Regions from separate parts of the Homo sapiens genome. Here region 1 is linked to region 2. The links are contacts of gene promoters, found by promoter capture Hi-C in human tissues and cell types (Jung and others, 2019). All regions are on one chromosome and are shown on one strand. Each heading gives the region's core, a stretch centred on a gene start or on the middle of the fragment in contact. The rest is flanking DNA. Distances are from core to core; before and after follow the strand shown.

Evidence for each region. The method cuts DNA at HindIII sites, captures the fragments that hold promoters and counts their contacts. A contact is called where the count stands out against the background at its distance.
Region 1: a contact is called between a fragment that was not itself captured here and the fragment with the promoter of CNBD1 in region 2, in 1 of the 25 tissues and cell types used here (hippocampus).

Annotation. Positions count from the first base shown.
Region 1 is chr8:86,699,227-86,701,926 of GRCh38, reverse strand. The region is part of intron 3 of CNGB3 (cyclic nucleotide gated channel subunit beta 3); the gene reads left to right. Among named protein-coding and RNA genes, the nearest start is that of CNGB3, 43 kb to the left of the region's middle. The HindIII fragment of the contact is 3,019 bases long and covers 1-2,700 here.
Region 2 is chr8:86,865,162-86,867,861 of GRCh38, reverse strand. It overlaps CNBD1 (cyclic nucleotide binding domain containing 1), which reads right to left and starts at 1,447. Exons shown (of 11, transcript NM_173538.3): 1 at 1,279-1,447. The coding sequence starts at 1,366. The HindIII fragment of the contact is 15,353 bases long and covers 1-2,700 here.

The DNA of each region.
Region 1 (2,700 bases), core at 61-2,560, 170 kb after region 2:
GTAGACTTAAAACTCATATTTTTCTTTTCCTTCACCTTTTGGTATTTTCTAAGTCCCCAATAATAACTACTTATTTTTGACCATTTAAAAGTAATTTTTAAGGTCTTAAATGGTAAAATTCGTAACAAATGAGTATAAAAATACTTCAGGGGAATTGACCATTTCCCAGTAGTTATCTATTGAATTATTTACAAAATAAAATCTACCATGAGATAGTATAATAGTGATTGTCCAGTAAGAGAGCTATGTTTTAAATATATTATTGCACTGTTCGGGCTTTCACTGGGAAAGAATTTTAAAAATAATAAACAAATGCATTATTGCATGGTTATCTTTCTGTTTTTCTAATCTTTTAAATTACTTCAAGCAGTCCACAGAGAGCCTGTCTTCAAAAACTGAGTAATTATTTATCTAGATATGATGTAGAGAGGATTCTTGTTTAAGTGCAATTGAATTAGAAGATTTATGAGATGTCCTCCAAAGCTTGTCTTCTGTGCCCCACTTCACAAAAATTATGGCATATTATTGGTGTTAGAGCCCCATATTTATTTCAAGAAATACTTCAACACTGAAAGAAATTAAATTCCATAAATTCTGTAATATTACCAATGTTGACATATTTTGCTAATTTAAACTTAAAATTTTGAAGTTCCAGTTTATACTCTCTACCTGTCTGCTTGCCAAAGAGATTTTTCTAAAGCCAAGGAACAGCTGAATCTAAAAGATGGGAGGGATAGTTACTATGTGCATAAATTTTAATTGAAAGAATTATGAGCTCATAGCTGTTAAAATAGAAAATAACAGGTTCATTTGCATACCTTCCCAAAGTATAAAAAATTAAAGCATTTGTTCTAGGCTGCGGAGGCAGGGATTTTAGTGGAGCTAGGATTCAATATTTGCAATATTGTTTATATTTTAAACTATATGGACCATGATAATTATCCAGAAACTATTAAGATTGGGAATGATTCAAAAACATTCCTTCCCAGCCGGGCACAGTGGCTCACGCCTGTAATCCCAGCACTTTGGGAGGCTGAGGCTGGCAGATCATTTGAGGCCAGGAGCTCAAGACCAGCCTGGCCAACATGGCAAAACTCTGTCTCTAAATACAAAAATACAAAAATTAGCCAGCGTGGTGGCACAGTCTATAATCCCAGCTACTCACAAGGTTGAGGCATGAGAATTGCTTGAACCCGGGAGATGGAGGTTGCAGTGAGCCGAGATCATGCCACTGCACTCCAGCCTGGGTGTCAGAGCAAGACTCTGTCTCAAAAAATAAAAAATAAAACTTCTTCACCTTGGTCTACCAGTCCATCTACTTTCAGTTCAGTCCACTGGTTTTGATTCACACCATAACCTGACGATATTGGAGATGTGAGGAGAAAAGGAAGTAGAATTTAAACAATTTAATCTCGTTAATTGTAACCAAGAGACATTTTGTAAATAGAAAATAACATTAGAAAAAGTAGTCTTACTCTAAGAAAAATTTCCAGAATTTTTACCATGACTATCACTTAAATGCAACTAGTTGAAAGTATTCATTCATGGAAATGTCCTAGTGGTAAATTTCCATACGTTTAATTGAATGGTTCTTAGTATTAAAAAAATTGAAAATGGCAGGCAATATATTTTAATAATTCCTAAGATGTCACACAAATGCCTCAGATAGAGCTGAGTTTATCACTGACAAATAGAAAGGAAAAAAAGCATAAAGAGCTTCAGATGTATGCATTAGTTAACTGAATTAAACCAATTTAAAAAAAACATTGCTTCTCATACAATGTTGCTCTTAATCTGCAGTAATTAGTTTTGGAAATGCTTAGGTCTCGTTTCTTTGAAGTTGCAATAAAAAGTTATAACAATTTAGCATCTTTGTATTACTCAAACAAGAAATTGAACATGTTAAACAAAATTTTGTGGGGGTCTTGCCATTTTATTTGGCTTGATTTGGATTGAAAGCAAAAGAAGAAAGAAAGAGAGATTGGATGATAGAGGGAGGAAAGGAAGGGAGGATGGGAAGGAGAAAAAAAGTAGGAAAGGAAATAAACTGTATTTTAGATTCCAATTGTCTCTCCTCTTAGGGAGGCTAAGAAGAAAGATTAAAGAATTCACCACCTGCAGATATTGGAAATTATGAGCATTTTTCAAATACCATACTTGGACAACCCTATAAATTTGGCAAAAGGGATCTAATACAATCAGATTGAAATTCTGGGCAATTAAATTTCTATCCAAACTAACTGCAGTTTTCAGACAATGAAAAACTTGAAAGCTTTCAGCAGTTTTTCCTTTTATTGATTGTTGTGGATGTCAGGACATTGTCATGAACCACCATCATATATCATATTCAGCAAGAATCCATAAGTACCAATAAATGGCTCATTGGAAATGGTACTTATATGCAATATATTAACATTCAGTAGTCTTTTTTATGTATTATTTTTGAGAGAGAGAGACAGATGGGGTCTCACTATGTTGCCCAGGCTGGTCTCAAACTCCTCACCTCAAGCAATCCTCCATCTTGGCCTCCCAAAGTGCTGGGATTATAGGAATGAGCCACTGCACCTGGCCAACATTCAATAGTCTTGATTTTATTGTTTACTTATAAAGTTATGGCCAATTAATTTATATCTAAATTATTATTATATAAGATTATAATGAAGAAGAGTTAAAAATTCTGTTATAATTTCCAATATGACA
Region 2 (2,700 bases), core at 198-2,697:
GTTAAGTGTCCTTGGGAGGCACTACAGAGGGTAGCACAAATCTCATCTCATTGATTCTAAATTAATTTGATCTTTTAACTCCCAGCTACCGAGTTTCCTGGGCTTTTTAAAAATATTATTTTATGGTGACTTTTATTTTCTTTTTCACAAATAAAACATGAATAGTAGAAGCTGTGTTTCTTCAGCAAAATTGCACTTAATTCTTATTTCCACTCAAGTAGAAATAGAAAACTTTGACCAGATGCAAGATTATTTTCACTATAATACAAATGGAATTAATTTTGTTTAACATAAGGATTTTGTCTAACACTATTCAAGACATCAGTGTACCCCTTCAAGGAGTATCAACTGCCACCTGTTATACCTTTTAACCTGGAGACTATGAGCATTAATTTTTTAAAATGTATTTGGAGAAATTAACTTTCACAGGAAGGGAAAAGGATGGATGGCTTAGCTTCTTCAAATCAATACTATAAATCTGCCCAATGAATAATAAAATAAGAGTTAATGCTTTATTGAAGTTGAAAAGGATCACAAGTATTACCTTTGTTATCCAGATATTTTTTAAAAATCTTAACTAACACTGGAACTCATACATATTGCTAGTCAGAATGATGGTGTTCAAATAATAGATCTTATAAATTCGATGGCCATGAGAAGTGTTTACAATCTTAAGAAAACGTTATAGGTTTAGACTAATTACATAAAATGAGAAAATACTGTCAATTATATAAACTTTGAAATATCTAGTTCTATACTTAATTCTTATAAGTAAGACTAGAAAATAAAAAAGTTAAATAGGAATAAATTTCACAGTCAGAATAGTAGGAATTATCTTTTTTTCCTTGTCAAATTGAAATGAGAATTCTCCTAGAGAATATTAAGTATTAATTATCCCATTAAGCGTAGTAGGACCAACTCTTGGTAGGGAGTAGAAGATCTGCTAGAAAAAGGAACCTGATAGCTGGTGGAACATGTGGCCTCTCTAAATCTTTGTTTTCTTTCATCTTTAGAAATATTTCAATGTATCTGAAGCTCTAAGAGTTCGTAAAGATCCTCATTTTACAGAGAAAAAATACTTAAGACCTAGAGTACTGAAATGACTTCAAGTAGACCAAGCAGGATTTACACATCTATGTTCTTTCCATTCTTCAGCACTGTCAATAAGATTCCCAATGTCCCTATCAACCCTGAAATACCCCCAATTTTCATAGCTGGGGTAAGAACCGCTGAAAACAATGGTAGGTGAATAAGAGCATCAAAGTATTTCCCACTCACTTGGTATACTGTGAAGTGGAGGAGGAGGCACATTGTTAATAGCTGTCATGTGAGACAAAATAGCTGCTGGAAGAGAAGACATCGGCATCTTGATGGCTCAAAGGCAGATAGATGACCAGAGGCTGCTTGAGAGGCAAATGATCACTCTTTGCCTGCAGGCTCATAAAGCAGAACTTCAAGGTCCTCTCTGATAGGTTGAATCCTACGGAATCTTCTTGTTCATAGTTCTTATCCATTGTTTGTGCATTTCCAAGAGTGTCATCTAGACCAGGAAGAACTATGCTACATTTTAGTCCAGTGGAAATCATAAGGAGGACTTTATGAGCTATAGAGAGTAGCAATAATGAAGAAGGAAACTGTAGCCCACAAGGCTGATACAGCAGAATCAACAGCACTCATGAGTCTAGGTGAAATGAAAGTATTCACTTCCTTGGTCTTCCATAGTCCAGAGCCCTTTTCCTGCCTACCAAATGTTTACACTGGGTATCACAGGCCCTTTCTGTACCAGCAGTAACAGAGATAGCATATTTATACTGTTCTTCATGGCCACATTTATAGGGTAAACCATCCCTTCTAATTATCATACACCAATAAACCCACCCCAGCTTACATTTAACTATATTCTGCTAGAGTGTGGAACATGTTTTTTTGTTATTTTCTGCTGCTTCACAATAATTAAGGATAGTTACAATGGCTAGGGTTTACAATCCTAACTAATGTATCTTTTGATGCTGTGTATTATCTTCCAAGGCCTTTAGAAATAGGGTCCTGGTATCATAACTGTTAGAGTGATACGGACAGGAGACAGGGAAACACTGGGTAGAAGAGGGCAGTTCCCCAGTAAAGGCCCCACCCTCAAGCCTGGAGACCTGCGGCCCTAGATTGGGACAGGCATTCCTGTTTTTGCACCTAAAAAGTTGCCTTTTGGCCTGCAACACACCCTATCCTGTACCCATATAAACCCTGAATCCCAGGCTCCAGAAGCAGACGAAGAGATGAGACAAATAGATGAATGGCAGAATGACAGGCAGAGAAAGTGAGAAAAGGAGGAACATCTGAACACTGAGAGGAGTTCAGCCACTGTACGGCCAAACTCCAGGGGAAGATCATTTTCCCACTCCATCCCCCTTCCAGCTCCCCATCCATCCTGCTGAGAGCCACCTCCACCACTCAATAAAACCCTGAGTTCTTCCTTCAAGCCCATGTGTGACCCAGTACTTCTGGGATGCTGGGCAAGAATTCAGGATACAGAAAGCTATCACACTGGCCCTCTACCCTTGTGAAAAGGCAGAGGGTCCATTGAGCTTGTTAACATCAAGCCATCCATGGAGGGTAGGGCTACAAGGGCACACTGCAACACAATGCCCACTTGGGCTCCTGCACCTGTCCGTCTGTGTGCTCCCCCTCCCCACAGGGTTTGAG